Regions from separate parts of the Homo sapiens genome. Here all the other regions are linked to region 2. Evidence: promoter capture Hi-C in 16 types of primary human blood cells and fetal thymus (Javierre and others, 2016). All regions are on one chromosome and are shown on one strand. The core of a region is centred on a gene start or on the middle of the fragment in contact, and the rest is flanking DNA. Distances in the headings are between cores, read along the strand shown.

Region 1 (5,624 bases), core at 189-2,688, 170 kb after region 2:
TTATTTCTTTTAGCTTTATATGTTTTACATGATTATTTTTCAGATCCACAGTTCCCTTTCTGTAGTTTTTCCTCCTCTGCCAAAATTCTTATTTTTTTCTTGAATCCCCTTCAATGTAGAAAGCGTAGTTATGTTAAAGTATATGATAAAAGGGATCCTGTGGGTCTGTTTCTATTGTTTCTTTTTGTTCTGTTTCATATAGTGGGCTATTTTTAAAATATATGCCAGATGTTGTATTTGAAAATTTATTTGAAAAAATAATTTGAGGGCTGGGATGATGTACATCCTCTTCAAGAAGATAGGAACGCATAGGAGCATGAGGAATCTAGGTTGGGTTTAACTCATTTTCAGGTGTTAAGCCCTGTTTGTGTTCTGATTCCCAGGTACTCACAGAGTGTAGCTTTTTGACATCCTAGTGTAAATTAGGTGGTTCATCAAGTATCCTTTTCTCCTCTGGGGGGCCCTTTCTCTTTTTTTCCCTTTCTATCGGGCACTCAGAAGGGCTGTTCACTCTTGCAGCTGTTTTTGGATTTGTAAATGTCTCAGGGAAAAAGTGGCTCCACCTTGGAATTTTTGTCCTCTCCTGGATGTTGGTTTGGTAATTTTTGTTATCTTTCTATGCCTTCAATTAGATGGCCAGCTTTTCTAGTTCTTTTCAGCAAGAAGCTTAATCTGAATTACCTCTTTTGCCATACCTGGAAGTTGAATTCCTGTCATTGGGTTAGATTTTTTTCAGGGATTGAGGCAGTTTCCATGAAACTTTACTTCTCAAACTGAAGTAATCTTTTACTCTCTTGTACTCTAATACTTTTTTGCTTTTACCTGTTTAAGAACATGTACTGTTTTTTACACTTTACATTTCAGTTGTGAGGTGGTTTTGTTGGTTCTACTAGACCATAATTTCCCTAAGATAAATGTGTGTGTATTTTTACATAGATCAGGGACTTGCACATATTAGTTGCTTAAAAATTTTTTTGGGGGTCCGGGCGCAGTGGCTCACTCCTGTAATTCCAGTACTTTGGGAGGCTGAGGCGGGCGGATCACAAGGTCAGGAGTTCGAGACCAGTCTGGCCAACATAGTGAAACCCCATCTCTACTAAAAATACAAAAAATTAGCCAGATGTGGTGGTGTGCGCCTGTAATCTCAGCTACCCAAGAGGCTGAGGCAGGAGAATCGCATGAACCTGGGAGGTGGAGGTTGCAGTGAGCCGAGATCACACCATCGCACTCCAGCCCGGGTGACAGTGTGAGACTCCATCTCAAAAAAAAAAAAAAAATTTTTTTTGGAGACTGTTCTCTCTCTGTTTTCCAGGCTACAGTGCAGTGGCGTGACCGTGGCTCACTGCAGCCTCAAAGACCCAAGTTAAGCCATCCTCCCACCTTAGCTTCCTGAGTAGCTGGGACTACAGGTGCACCACTATGTCTGGCTAATTTTTTTATTTTTATTTTTGTGGAGCCGGGTGTTAATCAGAGGCTGAGTGTTGGTGTGAGGGGGCGGGAGGGGGTCTTGGGAGCTCTCACTGTGTTGCCAGGGTTGGTCTCAGACTCCCGGTCTCAAGTTATCTCTTTGCCTCGGCCTCCCAAAGTGCTGGGATTGCAGGTGGAGCCGCCATACCTGGCTGCTTAAAATATTAAAATCAGTGATATAGAATCTCTTCTGGGAAAGGCAATGCAAAGGACAGTCTATCCTTTTGGGCCCAGCTACTGCATTAGAACTGATAAGCAAGGAAGCTATAATGAATGGCTGCCTTTATGAATTAAAATGAGAGATCAGGAATATAAGTGTGGTCCAGTTTTACCTCTGATAGAGTTAATCAGGGCTAAGTATAGTTGGCAGCTACTTAATGTAGTACTTATTGTACTAAATAGTGTTTACTAAAGTTCAAACTCCTGGGTTTTATTGCTTGTCCTGAAGCAACCTTTTAAATGGATGAAAAAGCAAGTAGCTGAAATAATAGAAAAGCTCATGGAATTAACGCATCACACATGCCCCAGATCATGCTACATTTTTATATCCAATGTTCAATATAAATTATTTTTTATTCCTAATATAGAAAGAGTCTCAACTGGAAAGTTGAATTTGCCATAAGATTAATGAACATTTTGTGTTTTGCTTTTTCCAAGTAGATTGATGAAGTGGTTTAAACATGTTTTGCTTTTCAATTTGAAACTTGGGTTATCATATTTATTCTCAGTTTTAGGTGGCTGCTTAAGCTTTGGGTAGTAGAGATAATGCTATGCCATAAAACTTTAATCTTTCACTTTTTTTCCCCACCTAACTCTTAGGATCTTTGTGTTTTAGCTTGTTGCAGCTTTTTAACAGTATATTCCAGGAGCAGCAAACTTTGGTGTTTTAACTTGGTTATAGTTGGATGTTTTAAATGTAAAACTGACTTTACAATATGCTTTAATATAGAACAAACAACAATCATGCAAGATGAAGTAATTTAATCTATAACTTTATTTTTTTTCTTTTAAGTGCTATAACTCTATCAGTCTTGGTTGACTTCTTGAGCCACTGGACTTCTAGGACAGTTATCAGGGTCCTCATCATTTTGATTCCCTTAATAACCACCTAGGTTCTATGCTTCTCTCTTTATAGTTCACCTAACCTGATGAGGTAGCTATGATTCCTGTTTCACATTTGAGGGAACTAAAAGTTGGAGGATTTAAGATTCTTGTATAAAGCCACATCGCTAGTATTTGGAAGAGCTGAAAATCAGATTATGGTCTATTTAATTTCTAAGTCTCATGATGTCTCCTATTCAGATTTGTGTTTTCCTTGCTGCAAAATAACCTTTGGGCTGCCTTCACTGATTTATCAGTAGTCTGTGATAGTTCTTGGTCGATCCATCTGATTGGACTGAATTCAGCCCCTTCTAACACTGAATTTTAAAAAATGATTTGTTGCATAGACAAAATAGAAATGGCACTAGTAGCTTGAACTTCTCATTCTTCTTGGTCTTGGAGTGGGGGACTTCCTGGTCTGGGTATAGTTTCCCTTTTGATGGCGGTGGGCTTGGTGTTAAAGGCTCTTCCTTCTGGTTGGGAGGAAAGGGGATAGTAGGTAGCCAGCAGTGGAACACTTACCTCTCATTAGGTTCCATCCTCCATGAGACCTATATGGAAGAGTGTGATTCTACCTGTTTTATGTGATTTAAGGAGATAACTTGTTAGTCATACAAATTATAAAATTTGTATAATTATTTGGGTTTATCAGTACAAAGTGATTGCTTCAAAGAATATAAACACTCTCTGGACAGATTTCAACTTTGCATGAATGATGCTTTTAAAGTATCTATTATGTTAGTTCTGTTTCTAGTTCTGTAACTTTACACAGAAAGAAGATGAGATAGTTATTTGTGCTTAATGAATACATAGTGGTATGCCCTGGCTGATTATTTTTTTCTTTTCCAAACATCTTCAAATCATGTGTCTGATTTTCATTTTAACTTTATTCATCAATCGTCAGTCTTACTAATCTGCACTTTGTGTAACCTGTTTTTTTCCTTTCCAAAATCAGGGAATTTTTTGATCAAGTGTTTGCTAACTCTTCTGTTGTCGAAAATTTCTCAGAAATTACTTACCTGTGGTTTTTATTATTAGATTATTTCTGAACCCTAAATTGTAATTGTCTGATGTTGAAGCTTAAATGCCTCAGTTAGATCTTCAGCCTACTCTTATTTTTTAGTCATGTAATACCTGTCTCCCTTAGTACATTTTTAGTTCCTTTTTGTTAAAATGTATTTTCTCTGTAATATTTTCAATACAGGAAATAAAGTCTTTGCTTTTGCTTTTTGGAGGTCAGTTTGCCAGCAGTCAAGAAACTTATGGAAAGGTAAGTTAAATTTTCATTAGACCATATGGAGTATACTTAGAAATAGAGCCTTGGGTTTGAAGAGAAGAAGTGCATATCTTAAATTTATATTTGTATGGTTACTTGTATCTGTTTCAAGAGGCAGTGGAATAAAGTGGATATTTTTGGAAAATTTGTGGTTTTGTTAAGTAATTTAGATTTATTTCTAGTATTTTATTTGTTTTACATTTTTAGTCAACAGTTGTGTCATAATTTGTCCTTTCACCTAAAAAAGGGCTGTGCTCCATTGGTGAGCTGTGTTTAGAATTTGAATTTAGAATTTGGCAGAATGTTGGGCTCGTGTTGAGAATCATTTTAAAATTTGAAATTGTGCATTGTATAAGACTGAATTTATGAGCTTTGTATTTTGCATAAAACTATATCAGTGTTTGACAGAAGTTTGGAAAATAGAAAAAATAATTTGCAGTTCCTTCTTGACGTGACTTATAATTTGGGGATGCTGCCTTCCAGTCTTTTTTTTTTTCGTGTACTTTTTTTTCCCTATTGTAATTCTACTTCTGTAGTCTGTGTTTCTCACCTGATAGTGTCAATATAGGCCTAAGTTGTTACTTGGCCTTTATCTCTAACATAGCTACATAATATTTTTCATTGACTAGCTCTACCATAATTAACCATTTCATTTTATTCAGGTTGCTTTAAAAATTTTCTCAATAAAAGTAATACTAAGATGAAAATATTTTTTCTTGTTTGGATTATTTTGAATTTTTCTGTTGGGTAGGGTAAATATTGGAAGAAAAAAAACGGGGTATATACCCAAAGTAATATAAGTCATTCTATTATAAAGATACATGCATGCATATGTTCATTGCAGCACTATTCACAATAGCAAAGCATAGAATCAACCTAAATGCCATCAGTGATAGACTGGATAATGAAAATGTACATATACACCATGGAAGCCATAAAAAGGAACGAGATCATGCATACTGTGCAGCCATAAAAAGGAATGAGATCATGTCCTTTGCAGGGGCATGGATAGAGTTGGAAGCCATTATCCTCAGCAAACTAATGCAGGAACAGAAAACCAAACACCACGTGTTCTCACTTATAAGTGGGAGCTGAATAATAAGAACATATGGACATGTCCAGGGAAACAACACACACTGGAGCCTGTTGGGGGTGGTGGAGTCTGGTGAAGGAGAGCATCAGGAAGAATAGCTAATGGATGCTGGGCTTAATACCTAGGCGATGGGTTGATCTGAGCAGCAAACCACCATGGCACACGTTTACCTATGCAACAAACCTGCACATCCTGCACAGGTATCCCTGAACTTAAAAGTTGAAGAAAAAAGAAAAAAGCTAGGTGTGACAGGAAGGATTTCTTGCAAAAGATGAAAGAGCTAAAGTTGAAAGTCCTGTAGTGTTGGACTTTTATTCCTGAATGACTTTCACTTATTGAGGGGAGGAGGAAAGGAAGGAGAGTGCGGATATAATTGGCTAAGGGTGATGAAATGAGGTCAGGATCCTTTTGGATTTTGCTGTGTTCTGGCAAGAGGTTATCTGGCTGCAGCTTACCAGTGCCTGTAATCTTGGGTGTTGGGATAGAGGATTGGGAAAACACCCCTGATGCACTTGGAGCTTTTTTCCCCTAGATAAAATATAAAATAGTAAAAGCTAATGAGAATTTAATAATGTACCTCATGATTTTCTATCATAGTTGTTTCAAAGGGCCCCTCCTTCACCCTCAGATGGCCACACCTACCTAGAAAAAGGTCTCATGTAGCAACTAAGAAATACATTACTTAGA
Region 2 (5,656 bases), core at 1,733-4,232:
TTAAGGCTGGAACTTGTCCAACATAAATAAATTTGTTGATATCTGAATAGAAGTAATGTAGTATATGATTGGTTACCATTTACAGATTTAAATGTCTATGTGGCACTCACTAAACATAATAAAATGAATTATATGCTAAACATTTGTAAAACATTTTGATAAGCCAGAATGTTTTCAGACTCAGAGAACATAGGCTTAAAAACATTATGTTTCTCCTAAATTGAAATACATGTTAAGAACTGAATTTAGCCTCATTCCATCCCCAGTCCCCAGGCTGTGCTCATTAGAGATGCATTTATTATTTTCTAAACATGAGCCTTGGAGCCAAAACCAAAGTTTGTTGTTGATGTTTTTATCTAGTAATTAAGCTAGATTTTAGGTTGATAATGGGAAAAGGACAGAAACAATTTAAGGACCTACTATGTACTGAGTGTTTTACTTATTATTTTAATTGCCTTCAAAATAAATCTATGACATCGGTTAATTTATCTCCATTTTACCAGTGATGCAACTAAGACTCAGAAAATATTTTGTCCATTTCATGCAGCATAAGAGTCAGTATTAAACATAAGGCCATCTCCAAAAGGCATGCTCCAGTTAGGAATAGTAAATCATGAATAAGGTTTTGGGGAAGCACAAGTTAAACTACCAATTGTAGTAAAATATTTTCTGCTATTATGACTACAGAGAGTAACCAGATTAGGGAAGGAAGACATCAGGCATCTAATGGATGAGGCACCAGAAAGATAGGATATTTAGAATAAATAAGATCTCCAAAGTTTTTATTTTGAGATAATTTTAGATTCACATGTAGTTAGTTGTAAGGAGTAATAGATACCCTGTATTCTTTATCCATAGTACAGTATCACAACTAGGAAATTCATATTGATACAATCCACCAGCCTTATTCAGAGCATTCATTGTATGTGTGTTTGTGTGTATTTAGTTCCATGCAGTTATATCACATGTAGATTTCTGTGGTCACCATCAGTCAAGATACAGAACAGTTGCATTAAAAGGATCCCACATGCTACCTTTTTGTATCCCTACTCACTCCTTCCATCTGCCTGCCTCCTCTGACAACCACTATAATTTGTCATTTCAAGAATACTAGGTGAATGGAATCATATAGTATGTAACCTTTGGCATTTAGCTTTTTCTTCCCTTCAGCATTACTCCCTTGACATCCCTCAAAGCTGTTGCATGTATCGATAGTTTGTTCCTTTTTATTGCACAGTAGCATTCCATAGTATGGATGAATCACAGCTTTTTAGTCATTTACCCATTGAAGGGCATTTAGGTTGTTTCCAGTTTGGGCTATTTATGAACAAAGATGCTAGATGCTACAATCATTTATGTACAAGTTTTTGTATGAGCATGAGTTTTCATTTCCCTGAGATAATTGTCTGAGAGTGCAATTGCTGGGTCAAAAGATAAGTGTATTTTTAGTTTTATAAAAAAGTGCAATACTCTTTTCTGGAATGGTTGTAACATTTGACATTCCCATCAGCAAAGTCTGAGTAATCCAGTTTGTCTGCATTGTCATTTGGTGGTGTCAATATTTTTTATTTTTATCTTAGCTATTCTGATAAGTATGTAGTGATATCTCATTATGGTTTTAATTTGTATTTCCTTAATGGTTAGTGAAGTTTAACATTTTCATGTGCTTATTATTAGCCATAGTGTATCTTCTTTAGTGGCATCTCCTTTCCTATCTTTTGCCCATTTTCTAATTGAATTGTTTAGGTTTTTACTGTTGAATTGTACACATTCTAGTCTTTTGTTGGATATGTGATTTGCAAATATTTTCTCCCGGACTGTAGTTTGTCTTTTCATCCAGTTAACAGAGTTGCAGAGCAAAAGGTTTTAATTTTGATGTGGTTCAATTTATCAGTTTCTCCTTTTATGAATTGTGCTTTTGGTCTGAATTCTAAGATCTCTTTGCCTAGCTGTATGTTCTGAAGATTCTCTCCTGTTTTTCTTTTCTGAAAATTTTATAGCATTATGTTTTATATTTAAGTCTGTGATCCATTTTGAATTTATTTGTGGATAAGATATGAGTTTAGGTCAAAATGGTGGTCATGCTTCTCCTCCCCTTCCTCCCCGTCTCCCTTCCTCACCTCCTCCCTTTCTTCCTGCTCCTCTTCCTGCTCCTCTTCCTCCTCTTCTTCCTCCTCCCCCTTCCCGCTTCTCCCCCTTCCTTCTTTCTCCCACCTCCTCCTTCCTCCTCCTCCTTACTTTCTTCTTCTTTCTTTTCTTTCTTCTTCACTTGCCCTACATAGTGATTTTAAGAGCTATAGTGCCTTCTCAGCCTGAATCCAAAGTGATTCCTGTAGTAAAGGTAACTGCCGGTTCATGAACAACCTGCTCAATGTTAACCTCTTCTTGTTCCTAAAATGTAGAGTCAGGGGAGCCCCTGAAACTGAGAATACAAACCAAAACTGTTCTGGAAGAGCAGCACAGTTTTTTCAACTCAGAAATGTAAAATTGTCTTGCTTATCATGACCTCTTCTGAAAAGTATTCTAAAAATGAAACAAAAAACGTATCCTAAAATGCTGAAATGTGATCTTGGGAGCATAGGGACAGTGGCACAAGGATGAAATCAGTGATGCTCTTAAGACAGTAAGACAACATGATTTGTAACTAGGAAATGAGAGAGATGGAGAGAGGAGAATGGAGAGAAGAGGGGGTAGGAGCAGGGAGAGAGAGAAAGAGACAGAGAGAGAAACACTGACTGACAAACCTGTAGTTTAGCTCTTACAATGCAGTGGAAGCCAGAAATGGTCAAGCTATTAAAAGCAAAAGGCAAACCAAAGAGAAAAGAACCCCCTTCAGCCTATAATCAGAAAAGAGCCATCCAAAGTTATACATCTTTTCAAATGCCTTCTGACTTAACTGTGGAATTACCATGTGGAACTAGCAACAGAACTTACTTGAAAGCTGGTTTCTGACAATGTAGAGCAGAGTTCTCTGGAGCAGCGTACTTAAGGGCAGTCCAAGCAAGATCTCTGGAGAGAAGGATAAAATGTCAGGCCAAGGGTGAGGCCAAACTGATGCAATCTCAGTTTTCTCTAAACTAAATTATACCACCTTACATAAATCTCAACTGGTGTTCTGAGGAAGTCAAAAGGAAGATTTACCCTGATGCTGTGCCTGCTGCCACAATTACATATCTGAAACCCTAAAAACTGCTTTTTAGCCTGCTTCCCCCTTCCACCTAGGAAAAACTAGGAACACCTAGTTTTTCCTCCTGAGTAGTTAAATAGCCAATGTTTTCTTTGTGTGCTATCTTATCATGTGGTTTCATAATCGTTGTGTGACTGTGTTTGATAAATAGTCCTTTGCCAAACCTGTTTTGTTGACGTTTCGCTCTTTAACATCAAAATAGAGTTTAAAATACCCTATTTTAATAATTTTGGATTGAAATTAGTGATTTGAGGGTCACCCAGTCTTTCCTTTCTTATAATTTATCTTGAAATATGCCTGTGTAACTCTAAATAGAGGGGTGGATTAATACTGCTACTAGATAGAGTAATTCTGGATAAGACCTGATGAATTTTTTGGATTTTCTGACCCTGGTCCAACTGGTTTTCAGGTGCTTCAGGATAGTTTTATAACAGTTGTTAAATCTAGATTGAATGATTTGTGAAACTTTTTCACAAATGGTTTTGCAAATAATTTATATATGCAAAATTAGTATATGTCTATATTAATTTCTTGATCCCTGACAGGTCTTGAAAACCAAATGAAAAACTGAATTACTAAAGCAAATTATACTTTCTGTACTATTTGTACTGTGTACAATTTATGCTATCCTCTGGGGTGACTATCATGTGTCATTTGTTACACCCCTGCTGACTCTTCCTTCCCCTTGTAGTTAGAATGCAAAATTTTCTTTAGTATTGCCATACAGGGCTGTCTTCTTACACACTTGCTTGACATTATTTGGCTTTTGTGATTTCCGAGTAGGTCCTTGTATGCCATTGGTTGAAGATTCTTTGAAAGCATTTTTTCAGGATCAAGCGTTGATTGAAGATATCCAAAATACATCTGTAGTTGAACCAAATGGTGTTTTGTGGGAGGTTTACTTTTCCCCTCTGATAAGGTGTGAGAGCCTGGGAGTAAACAGTGAGTAATATAGACGAAGACACAGACTGGGTGTTCATGTAGGTCCCTTGTTGGCTCCCACCTCCCCTATTCCCTGGTTGTCATGAAAAGCAGAACTGCTGCTCCCACCTCCGCTTTCCTCTTAACCCAGCCTTTCAGAGCAGCAGTAGGAGCCAGCACCACCTCTGTCATCATTCTCAGTGACAAAGGATGCAAAGTGTAGAACATTTCTTAGCTCCCATCTCCAGCCTCTGCCCTGGCAATTCTTCACCCTTGAACCTCTGACCCACAAGCAGAACACCTAGTGTTTGCAGTTCACTCCAGTGTATAACCTCTGGCAAGTCTTCTAAGCTTCCTTTACCTTACATTTCTTCAGTTGTTAAATGTTGCTAAAAATAACCAACTAACAAGATGCTTTTGAAGAAGGAGACATCCCAACCAGCCAGAACTGGAGAGAAGCTCAAATGGGACCCAGCAAGGAGGGCCAGAGCTGAACAGCTGGTCCCCTTATTCTCTTTTCCATGGCAGAGGAGATTTGAACCCACTGTATAGCTTTCTCTGTTGTGTGAATAGTACACTTTGTAGCTTTCGTGTTCAAGTAAAATGAAACCAAGATGGCTATGAAGATTGAGGGTAATATACGAACAGTACCTGATACAGTGAGTACTCACACATTCCTTTAATAACAAATCATTCCTGATCTTACTTCTGTGTCTACCTACATCTTCACCTAATTTTCATCTTGACCTCCCACTTTCAGCCCATGAGCTGCTCCTGTTGTTCAGATCAGGGAAGAAGGAACACTTAACGACAATCCAAATTGGAACCATATCATTTCCCAAAGATACTTTGCTATAAGCACAGTTAGTTAGGTTCTGGGATATAATGAAGTGGAGTTATATAGTCAAAGGGCCTTGAGAAACCTAACAGTCTTTTATTTAACAGTTGGACCCTAAGCCCATGAGGTGAAAGGGTCCATGATAGGCTGGCTCTATCCCAGGGTACTTTTAGATATATTAATTGGTAATCAGAGCCTCACCACTTGAGTGGCTTGATGAACCGTCATGTCAAGCGGCGTGCCAGTGATACTGGCCCCCTTGGTCCTCAGAGTGGCCAGGCAGGGATTGGGTTTGTCAGAGACCTGGGCTGGTCATCTTTAGCTATGATCAGCATCTTACCCCAGGGATGAGTAGAAGTATTATCATCTTTCTGCATGCCTTGATATGAAAAAGGCTTTTGTAAAAAGTGATCCAGATTATCTTCATACCAAACATCTGATTTAAAAAAAGTTCATCCCTAAATATAATTTGACTGCTATGATAATTTATACTCAAAGGGGTTGAATAACTTCACTGAGATAAGATAGGCGTGTCAGGATTTGAACTCAGGTCTTCCCTTCTCCATCCAGAGCTTATGCTCTGCAGTGCTGCCATGTGCCCCTTTAGTTGCAAAACGGGGCTTATAGAACACAGGTCACCTGACCTGCTGCTACTCACAGTGTGGGTTGCATAGATTTCTGTGGGCAGTCTTGACAGCTGAACATTAATT
Region 3 (5,799 bases), core at 1,066-3,565, 130 kb after region 2:
CTGACATGTCATGAACAATTCAAAAATATATGGAAGAGGGTTATTTATAAAGCAGAGAATTATTAGAGGAAATGAAGTTCATCTGGAATCCTGAATCTTAAAAAAAGTTGATCAGGATGTTTTACTTATGACAAAAGTATTGTTGAATAAATAAAATGTAGAGATAAAAGGGAAGGAAAAACATCCAGCCATAATATGTCCATCCACAGACCAAGAGTGAATCTATTTTTTCAGGCATTTTCTTATAAATCCTTAATTATATTTAATAAACATGGAATCATACTAGCCATACTCTTTTGTAACCTATTTAACATATTCAAGCTCCCATTAGACTGCCTGGCTCTGGGTTCCAGCTCTGTCACTGACTAATAGGATGACATTGCACAAGTTACTTAATCAACCTGCTGATAAGAATGGAATTTTGAGCAGAGGAGTCAAAGGCTCTAGAGCTGCAAAGATTAAGTTGTCATCAGCCAACATTGGAAGTCTGTGCATAAAAGAGATTTCTAGGAAAAAAAAAAATCAGCAGTTCAATCTATCGGACACCTGAATGGAAATATCAAGCATGTAGTTGGATTGTGACTTGAAGAAAAGCATGAAGAGTTACAAGTGTAGGCCATGGGCCTATAGATATTTAGAGCAGTGAGACTGGATAAAATCAAGGGAGCAATTGTAGATAGAGAAGAAGACCAAGAACTGAGCCTTGGACCATTCCAACACTAAGAGTTTAGAGGGGAGATACAAAGGGAAGGGAAAGAACTTAAGAGGAAAAAAGGAAAACAAGAGAATGCAGTGACCTGGAAACATATGAAGAAGGTGTATTAAGGAGACAGGGATTATTAAAATGTGCCAAATGCTGCTAATCAGATAAGAAAAGGACTGAGAATTGCCATTGAATTTGGCAATGTGGAGGTCACCCAAGAGCAGTGTGTGTGGAGAGAAAAGCTTGAAAGAAGAGAAGGTTTACAAGAGAACGGGAGGAAAGAAATTGGAGAGAGCTAGTATGGACACTTATTTCAAGATTTCCTGCTAAGAGCAACAAATACATGGGACAGGTCCTGGTGGGAAAAGTAGGCTCAAAAGAAAGTTTCATTTCATTTTTCTAGAGTGGAAGAAATTATAGCATGTTTGTAAGTGGATAGAATGATCCAGTAAAGATAATAAAATACATGATGTAAGACATAAGGGGAATTTCTGAAGTGGTGTTCTTGCGTGAGCAAGAAGGAATGGGATCTAGCATGTAAGTGGAGGAATTAGTTTTGATATGAGCACAGACTGTTTATCTTTGGTATCAGTCAGGAAGGCCAAGTATATGAGTCATCATTTTGGAGGGAGTCAGTTGAAGTTCTCTTCTGAGAGCTTCAATTTTCCCATTACGCCCTTTATCCTTGCTCATGTGAATTACACGGGAAGCATCAGAGTCCCAGGGCACCCCTTATTTCCAGCTCTCTAACCCTCATAGAGCTCTGTAATTCCCATAAATGGTCTCCTATCCTCCCTCCTGAAACTCTTTCTTTACGTTATCAGAAATGTAGAGTGCATCATGTCAGTTGTGTAGGAGAGTGTTTATTTTCCTGTGCCCTCGCAATACAAATGCTATTGCATAAAGGAATCTTTGCCAATTTAATTGGGGAAAGGCTTATTTCACTGTTATTTAACGTAGACTTCTTCAATTTCTAGTAAGGATGAATATTTTCTTCACATTTTTAAATGGTACTTTTTCTTTTAATTAATTACTTTCATAAAAGCTGCTTATTTTTCTGCTAGGGTTTTCAACTGTTTTTTTTTTTTTTTTTTTTTTTTTTTTTTTTTGAGATAGGATCTTGCCCTGTAGCCCAGGCTGGAGTGCAGTGGCATGATCTCAGCTCAGTGCAGCCTCTGCCTTGTGGGTTCACGCGATTCTCCTGCCTCAGCTACCTGAGTAATTGGGACTATAGGCGTGCACCACCATGTCCAGCTAATTTTTGTATTTTTAGTACAGATAGGATTTCACCATGTTGCCCAGGCTGGTCTCAAACTACTGGCTTCAAGTGATCCACCTGCCTCGACCTCCCAAAGTGCTGGGATTGCAGGTGTGAGCCACTGTGCTGGCCTCAATTCTTTCTCATTGTTTTGTAAGAACTCTTCCTAGATAAGTTTATTAATACTATTTTTCACGCATGATGCAAATATTTTCACTCAAATTTCCACTTTTCTTTCAATGCAGTTTTTGGCACTTTTACATACTTTAAAAAATCTTATTTTACATCAATCAGTAATTTATTTAATGGAATCCATTTTGAGCACTTAGGCCCTTTCCTTGCCACCCCCAAGGCAAAGTAAATATTCACCCACATCTTAAAGAAACCCGTAACAGTTCTTTGGTTTCAGTTGTTGCATTTAAATAGTTAATTTCAACAGAAGTATATCTGAGTGCATGGTATAAAGAAGAGATATAATTTTTTTTGCCCCCTGAAATGGTGGCCAGTTGTCACAACTGTCTTTATGAGCTAATTTCTTGTACTAGAAGGGTCCACTATCCCTTTCTAAGGGTACGGCCCAGCCAGCAGTTTCCTGCTGAGAGAAGATGCCCTGGAATGCTCTTGAGAAAGGATTGGTCATCAGTTAGGTTGGGCCTCTGTGCCAAGGCAGCCTCTTAGGTTCATGACAGCCTGCCAGGAACAGCTCCACCCAGAATACTGATATTAACTGGTATTTGAAGCAGCAATAAAAAGAGTATTATGCATTTAGCATCACGGAGAGAAATAAAAACCCACAAAAAGAAAAGTTGAATTTGAAAGGACAATACCAGTAGCTATGCCATTAGTGATGCCATTGAGAAAATCAGATTTCACTGTACATTTTTAAATATGTACAATCCATCTATCCATTCCCACAATTAATGTTTTTCCACAGCCTACTGTGTGCCAGATACCAGGCTGGATGTTTTGATAAACAAGACCACGTCCCACCCACAGGGAATTTACATTCAAATAAGTATTGGGAGCTGACAGGAACATCTAGAAAGCATCATCCTATGTATAGGATTTAAACAGCATATAATAATGGAATAATTTAACAATCCATTTAACATACCAGGATACACAGCTTGCAAACTGAAGCAAGTGTATAAAATTTTTAAAATGTGATAGAGGTAGAGTTAGAAAGCTGGTGGGGAAAGAATGGTAAGTTAGTTGAGTTTCCTGAGGTTTCAAGGAATGGAGACACCTGAGCAACTTAACATGAAAGAAATTTATTTACTTTGAGTTGGTAACAGTCACTTTGCTCAGCCACTCCGGTATCTCTACCTCTTCTGGCCTTTATCAGTGTAGCTCATAGTCTCTGATATTTTTTACATAACTTCTCTTTTTTCCTATGAATAATCTCTTTGGTTATTAACTTACTGACTTAAATTCCTTTTTTATCATTCTCTCTTAAACCAACAGGAATCAGCCTTTCTTCCCACCTCTAACACTAAAACTGCTTTTATCAGCTTTTCCAATGACCTTAGGTCAATTCTGAGTCTTCCTCTTTCTCATGCTATTACTGGCCTTTGGCATAGTTGATCACGCCTTCCTATTTGAAACACTCTTTGCTTTGCCTTCAGGACACCATTCTCTCCTTGTTCTCCTGTGTCATAGGACACTTTTTCTCATTCACGTCTCATTATTTGTCATTTATCCGATTTCACAATGCTAGACTGCTCCAAGCTTGGTCCTTGGAATTTTTCTCTTTTCTACTTCTACTTACCCCCTGGATGATCTCTTCTAATTTTGTGAATGTAAATACTTTACTATATGTTGAAAATTCCAAAATGTGTATCTCCAGGTTGGACTTCTGTCTTGAACCTCAGGCTCATATGTCCAATTACTAATGACATTGTCACTTAGATGTACCAAATAGGCATCTGTAGTGGAGTGTATTATTGTTCATAATATTTGTTGCCTTGTCCAGTGCCAGCATTATACTTACCCTGTTCTGCTGATGTCAGGGCTGGCCTTGGGATTTGCTTTGGTCAATGACATGCGGTGCAACTGACTTAAGTTGTTTTTGAGAAGAAGCCTTAAAAGCCATCATGTGGCTCCATTGTGTTATTTCTTCCCTCTGCCCTGACACCAGAAACATTCCAGATGGAGGCTGCTCCTTCAGCCTGGGTCATGAGATAAAGTCCACGAAGACACAGTTGACCTGCAGTAGACACAAATGTGAGTGAGCAAGAAATAAACTTTTTTGCTTTAAAGCATTAAGGTTTTTGGAGTTGTTTTGTTTCCTTCAAGAAAATGTTTATTGCATATTATTAGTGATTATGTTTTACAGCAAAATAAAATATACACACTTTTCACAAACACAAAATGGGAATCAAGGCAGCTATCAAATTTACATGTTGAACCAAGTCCTGGTTTTCAGAATTCAGCAGCCAGTCACGATTCTGCACCAGGGCCACTAGTCCATGATTTCCAATAGGTGAGGATCTTTTCAGTAATTGGGACAAAATCTTCTTTATATGTGACCATCGTTTGCATATAAAACCCTTTTGGGCATTCAGATAGTTCACGGGGTACCTCACTTGTTGAGGCATCCTTTTGTTCTACTTCATCACCTGTTGGCTTCTCCTTTTTCTGGCCAAAGTAAAACATTGAGCGCACCAAGGTCCTGGTGCTGACCACGGACATCTGCCAGTACCAGGCCGTGAACTGGTTTTGATACATGGGGATGCCAGCGAGGGCCTCTATCCTCCTGGAGTTGTTTACTGCAAGAGACATAGCCTAAACTGAATGACACAGCATCTCAAATTAACATACCCAAAACTGAATGCCTGATCTTCCCTGCCCAACCTCCAAACTGCTCTGCCCACAGAGTTCCCCATCTTGGTGAACAGCAGTTTCAACTTTCCAGTTTTCAGATTAAGAAAGTCGGAATTGTCCTTGATTACTCTCTGAATCTCACGCTCCACATATAGGCACTGAAAATACATCAATGAACACAATAGACACAACAGATAAAAATTCCTGTTGAGATTACATTCAATAGAGATGAAGCAGACAATAATGAAATGAGCAAGCATAATAAGTTGAGTATGAGGATTTCAATATATGTAATACATATTACTATATAATACTAAATATTTAAATGTGTAGAAGTTAACGCATGAGATGGAAAAAACAGAGCCAGTTAAAGGGGAAGGGAGTACCTAGGGTGACAGCAAGGGTGTAGGTTGCAAGGGTAGTCCGAGTTCAACTGATTGAGACAGAAACATTTTAACAAAGACTTGAGAGCTGCAGAACTTTTGGCATGTAATGACTCTGCCCAAACCTCTACACTAAGAGATGACTAAACTGCAGCATTGCTTCTAGCAGCGTAAGGCCACGCCCCTAACATGACCCCGCCACCCCCATTCTCCTCGCAAATGCCTGCATTACCAAGCCCAGTGCTGCCAGAAGAATTTACTGTGTGTTCTAGTCAACCCTGGATGACAGGCCCTTGTCCTTTCTTTTTAGACCATTTACTAAAAAGGGCTCACAATTGTGAATCTGTATCTCCTGTAACTCAGAAGTGTCTTTTTCAAGGACTCGAAAGCCATTTCTTTGCAATGTAATTATCAGGAGGGATAGGGACTGATATGGTTTTGCTGTGCCCCCACCCAAATCTCAACCGGAATTGTATCTCCCAGAATTCCCACGTGTTGTGGGAAGGACCCAGGGGGAGGTAATAGAATCATGAGGGCTGGTCTTTTCTGTGCTATTCTAGTGATAGTGAATACGTCTCACGATATCTGATGCGTTTATCAAGGGTTTCTGCTTTTGCTTCCTCCTTATTTTC
Region 4 (5,613 bases), core at 3-2,502, 150 kb after region 2:
AGTTCTCCTCGTAGAGATCTTTCACCTCCTTGACTAGCTGTATTCCTACGTATTTTTGTGTGTGTGTGGCTATTGTAAATGGGATTGTGTTCTTGATTTAGACTGTCAGTTTGAGTGTTGTGTTTGGAAATGCTACTGATTTTTGTACATTGAATTTGTATCCCGAAACTTTACTAAAGTAGTTTATCAGTTCCAGGATCCTGTTGGTGGAGTCTTCAGGGTTTTCTAGGTATGGACTCAGATTGTTGGTGAAGAGAGATAGTTTGACTCCTTTTCCTATTTGGATGCCTTTTATTTCTTTCTCTTGCCTGATTGCTCTGGCTAGGACTTCTGAAATCTGGAAAGGCTTTGTCATGAGGTTCTGGGATTAGTTTGATCAATATTTTAAGGTAGCCTACATGATAGATCAATTGGGCTAGATTTTTAAGAGGTAAGAAACCACTTTAATGGAAAACCTTGATGTGTAGTTCATTAATATTTAGGCTAGTGAATTAACTAACAATTTTTAAACTGTCGATTCTGAATACAGCTAAGTTCCTTAGTCATTTGAAGTTCTATCAGTACATTTGAGAACATATATGATTTATAACTACAGTACCCTGTACTGTACATTTGAGCTTATAACAATTAGATCCAATTTAGATTTACCTGATTGAAACATTTCATCTTTCTTATTAAAAGTTTTTATTTTCATTCTTGTAGTTATTTCTTGGGTTTCACACTTTAGCTTTTTAGGAATTTTTCAATTTATATTCAGCAGAAGTGGAGAATAGAGGCTGTTATAACTAGTTTTTATAATGTTGCAAATCAAATATTGCTAATTTTGAAGCAGCTGGTAGGTATTTGGGATTCCATTACATTTTCCTCTTTGCTTTTGTGTTATATTTGAATATTTCCATACTAAAAGTTGTTGCAAATTAATAATTTTTATATAATTGATAAAGTTGAGGAAATAATAAGCATATGGAAGAGTTCAAGAACACTATCAAGGAATATGACTATAATTGACATTTACAGAACTCCACTTAAATACAGCATACATGTTTTTTAAAAAGCATATGTTCACCAAAGTTGACCATATTCCGAGCAATAAAATACAGCTCAATACATATCAAATGATTGAAATCTTATAAATATGTTCTCTAAAGACAGTATAATTAAATTAGAAAAAGAAAAAATTCCAAAAAAAGATATAGTCTGGCTTGAAGTAATTTGGAGCTTTTTTTTGGACTCTATGGTACTGACCTAGTCTTGGAAGGCTGGCAGTCTCCCAGCTCAAACCTGACTTAAAGAAGTAAACATTAACAATGATTTTGTAAGTCTCAATATATCAGCTATCCTCTGTAGATGTTTTTACTTCTTCGTCTTTCAAATACATGATTACACCATTTAGAAACTATGGAGGCCTAACATTTGGCATGGTGCTTTGAAGATCCCAGGTGACCAAAATTTTTTTGGTGGACAGGTTTATTCCCACCTGAAGGCCATAAAACACCAAGAGAAGAAAGATGATAAAGGAGATGGAATTTGGAAGCCAGAGTCATTATACAAATTTTTGGCTAGTCAAGGATAGGCTGACTGGAAGGGATACCATATCCTTAATTTGGGCTCAAAGACAAATTCAAAGTTTTCTTGTCTTATTAAATCAAACAATTTCTGTTTAATTACTTGGTCTTCTTGATGAGAGTTAGTCCTCATATGATCAGATGTCCTAAATAGCCAGCTGTCCTAAAGTCTACTTATCTGTGAGATTTTGTGATAGTGATGTTGCACTGAGGCTCAATTTGAAACTTTATTTCAGTTGTTGATAAGCAAACTTCTCAGTGACTTAAAGCTACTGAATGTCTTTATTTTTTATTTTATTTATTTATTTTTGAGAGAGGGTCTCACTCTGTTACCTAGACCTGAGTGCAGTGGCACAATCATAGCTCACTGCAGCCTCGACCTCCTGGGCTCAAGAAATCCTTCTGCCTCCACGTATCGAGTAGCTAGGACTATAGGTGTGCACCACCATGCCTGGCTACCTTTTTTTTTTTTTTTTTTTTTTTTTTGAGACAGACTCTTGCTCTGTCACCAGGCTGGAGTGCAGTGGCTCAATCTCGGCTCACTGCAATCTCTGCCTCCCAGGTTCAAGTGATTCTCTTGCCTCAGCCTCCCGAGTAGCTGGGACTACAGGTGTGCACCACCACGCCCGGCTAATTTTTTTTGTATTTTAGTTGAGATGGGGGTTTCACCATGTTGGCCAGGATGGTCTCGATCTCCTGACCTCGTGATCCGCCTGCCTCGGCCTCCCAAAGTGCTGGGATTACAGGCATGAGCCACTGCGCCTGGCCACCCAGCTACTTTTTAAAAAATGTTTTTTAGAGACGAGGTCTTACCTTTTTGCCCAGGCTGGTCTCAAACTCCTAGGCTCAAGTGATCCTCCTCCCAAAGTGTTGGGATTACAGGGGTGAGCCACTGTGCCTGGCCTGAATGTGTCTTTAAATGTTTACCCATTTGATAGGACAAGAGTGAAGATCAATGGCAATTTGTGACCTTAATGTCTCCTCTAGTGTAATGTTGTGTCTTTTCTGTTTTACAGTTGAGAACATGGTAACTGTTGGAAAAACCATTCTTGAAAGAAATAATTTCACTGACTTCACGAATGTGAGGTGTGTATACTTCCAGATGGAAACCAATATTATACATTATTGACGTTTTTCAAAATGTCATTTCTCCATGGAAAATGGAAACAGAGGTGGCAGTTTGTGGTTTAAATGTAGTTTTCCTGAAAGTGAGAATATAGTTCATTGGTAGTATAAATGTAATAAAACTTCCTCTTGTGTCTCAATATCTTCCAATAATTTCCACTTGAAGTTTGGACAGACAAGTCTATATGGGCAGTGGGTAGGTAAAATAGTTACAAGTCTACTTTTTAAAAAAAAATTTTTGAGATAGGATCTCACTGTGTTGCCCAGGCTAGAGTGCAGTGGTGTGATCATGGCTCATTGCAGCCTCAACCTCCCAGACTGAGTATCCTTCTACCTCAGCCTCCAGAGTAGCTGGGACCACAGGCAAGTACTGCCACACCCGGCTAATTTTAAAATTTTTTAGGTAGAGACAGGGTCTCCCTATGTTGCCCAGGCTTGTCTCAAACTCCTGGGCTCAAGTGATTCTCCTGCCTCAGCCTCACACAAGTTCTGGGATTACAGGTGTGAGTCACCACACCCAGCAAATCTACTTTTCTTTGTTCAATATGGGCATTCCTATAAAACTGTATGCAAGTTGAATTTTCTTAGAAAAATTTTATATGATTTAAAAACACATGATTATAATTCTAACGTGAAATTAACTTGAATTTGTTGTCTGCTGAACTCTGGCGTAAGCACATGATGTTCAATTTTTCAACTTTTTTTTTTTTTTTTTTTTTTTTTTTTGAGACGGAGTCTTGCACTGTCCCCCAGGCTGGAGTGCAGTGGTGCGATCTTGGCTCACTGCAACCTCTGCCTCCGGAGTTCAAGTGATTCTCCTGCCTCAGCCTTCCACGTAGCTGGGATTGTGTGTGCATGCCACCATGCCTGGCTAGCTTTTGTATTTCTTATAGTAGAGACAGGGTTTTGCTATGTTGGCCAGGCTGGTCTCGAACTCCTGACATCAAGTGATCCGCCCGCCTTGGCCTCTCAAAATGCTGGGATTACAGGCGTGAGCCACTGCGCCGGGCCTTTTCAAATGTTTTAATTTGTCTAAGTAATGTTTTTCTTTTTAAAAGGTTTCCAATTTTGCTTCTGTGACCCAAGCAGGTATAATGGAGATTACTTCTAACACTTTTGACCTAGAATTCAGAATAGACTTGAATTCTAATGCCATCCATGCTACTTGTGGTGTACTCTACGTACACTGTCTGTATTAGTTTAGACATGCCATTTAGCCTCTCCAAGATAATACCTGCTCTGCCTGCTGGTAGGTGCAAATGAGATTCTCTGTGTGAAAAATCCTCCAAAAACTGTTAAGTATTACCAAGTGTGATAATGACAAGGAACAAATGGTGTTTGAGACCCTTTGGCCAGAAGCCACACATTTCCTTCACAGTCATAGGATACTTATTAGAAGAATGAACACTGGACAAAGAATTGAGAGCCCTGAGTCTCAACTCCAGCTCCACGACTGTCTAACTTTGGGACCTTGGGAATATTTTAAACTTTCTGGATCATGGCTTCTCCATCTTTAAGATGAAAAGATTGAGTGAACCTTTGAGTTGCTTCAAGCTTCTAGATTATTTGATTCTACATTATATGACTGTTTGGCAGAAGGAAAACCTAGTCTCCTCTTCTAGGTGGTGGTGGAAATTTTAAAGTATGTACTGCATATCTGACTCCACATTGCTAGTCCCAGAGGATCACTGCTGCAGTATAGCACTTCTATGCCTCCTTTCCACACTTCCACTCACTGATACCTTGAACAGGCAAATATTTCTAGGCTTTGATTATTGTTACAGGTGTGTGTTGCTCTGCTGAGCATAGGTGGACTTGCAAAAATTTTTGTAAGCTTATTTTTAAGAGTTTAAATCATATTTTAAAAACTTTGTAACCATTTAAAGGAATTCTTGTGTATCTTTTAGGAAGCACATAATTATCATTATCATCTAACTTATTTTAAGTATTAAACAAGAAACCTGGGTGATGACGAAAGTTTTTTATGATGACATAATTAATCTCACTACTGAAATATTGTTGGTTTGGTGGGAAATGTCTGAGTACTTTATTAAAGGAAAAAGTGTGCCATCTACTGGCTATGTATTGAATAAAGGAACACGACTACTTGAGTGTCCAGTGATGTTTTTAAAAATTCATTGCAAGAGCATATTTTAAGAGAATGAAAGCTTACGATGATAAAGACTGAAGTGATAAGACATTATGCCAACTCAGAATTCATAAAGATTATATTGAGGCGTAATATGCTGTTAAGGCCTTCCTTGATGATGAGCTTATGTTACTACGAACTTCAACATGAAAAGAAGAGGAAGTGTGTGAATCCTCTGAAGTGCATAAAGAGAAACATTAATGAGATTTGTGACAGTCTATTTACCTTAGGTACTTATTTTGGATCTCATTAAAATTTATGTGTTTTCACCTGAAAAATGACTTTATTTTAGAACTGGTTTGTCAATCATCTCTTTACTTTCTATTTTAGGATGGGTTTTCATATGCCACCATTCTGTTCCATTTCCCACTTGCACCTTCATGTTCTGGCACCAGTGGATCAGCTTGGCTTCTTATCCAAGTTGGTTTATAGAGTCAATTCCTATTGGTTTATCACAGTGAGTATTCTTGTTATGTCAGCAGCATACAAAAATATTTAAAATATCCTTTTCATTGTAGTTTTTTCTTCTCAACAGTAGGCACTTACAGCTCTCATAGACTTGATTACCTGTTTTAACATACTGCTTGCACATATCCAAAATAATATTTTTAATTTGGGGGATTTTGAAGATCATCAGTCTGTAGGAAGAGAAGCTATGGCTAAATCTTCCCCATTGCAAGTAGCAGATACGATATAGAAGAACCATGGTATTCAGAGTTCTGACTCTGGAGTCAGATCTGGATTCAAATTCTGGCTGCAGTGCTTGCTTGAGGG

What was found. Contacts are between HindIII fragments. The CHiCAGO score rates a contact against its expected background, and 5 or more counts as called.
Region 1: a contact is called between a fragment that was not itself captured here and the fragment with the promoter of NCOA7-AS1 in region 2, in 2 of 17 cell types (activated CD4 T cells and erythroblasts). The highest score is 6.2, in activated CD4 T cells.
Region 3: a contact is called between a fragment that was not itself captured here and the fragment with the promoter of NCOA7-AS1 in region 2, in 8 of 17 cell types (total B cells, total CD8 T cells, activated CD4 T cells and 5 more). The highest score is 6.8, in total B cells.
Region 4: a contact is called between a fragment that was not itself captured here and the fragment with the promoter of NCOA7-AS1 in region 2, in 10 of 17 cell types (activated CD4 T cells, erythroblasts, megakaryocytes and 7 more). The highest score is 9.9, in activated CD4 T cells.

The regions. Positions count from the first base shown.
Region 1 is chr6:125,989,985-125,995,608 of GRCh38, forward strand. TRMT11 (tRNA methyltransferase 11) reads left to right here. Exons shown (of 13, transcript NM_001031712.3): 2 at 3,773-3,838. Among named protein-coding and RNA genes, the nearest start is that of TRMT11, 6.3 kb to the left of the region's middle. The HindIII fragment of the contact is 1,548 bases long and covers 665-2,212 here.
Region 2 is chr6:125,815,876-125,821,531 of GRCh38, forward strand. NCOA7-AS1 (NCOA7 antisense RNA 1) reads right to left here and starts at 2,983. Exons shown (of 3, transcript NR_126386.1): 1 at 2,935-2,983. The region is part of intron 2 of NCOA7 (nuclear receptor coactivator 7); the gene reads left to right. RefSeq lists an enhancer at 2,208-2,709. The HindIII fragment of the contact is 4,548 bases long and covers 1-4,457 here.
Region 3 is chr6:125,945,175-125,950,973 of GRCh38, forward strand. No RefSeq gene overlaps it. Among named protein-coding and RNA genes, the nearest start is that of HINT3, 8.7 kb to the right of the region's middle. RefSeq lists enhancers at 1,024-1,518, 1,169-1,463. The HindIII fragment of the contact is 2,744 bases long and covers 944-3,687 here.
Region 4 is chr6:125,969,678-125,975,290 of GRCh38, forward strand. HINT3 (histidine triad nucleotide binding protein 3) reads left to right here. Exons shown (of 5, transcript NM_138571.5): 3 at 2,582-2,651; 4 at 5,170-5,296. Among named protein-coding and RNA genes, the nearest start is that of TRMT11, 14 kb to the right of the region's middle. The HindIII fragment of the contact is 5,980 bases long and covers 1-4,242 here.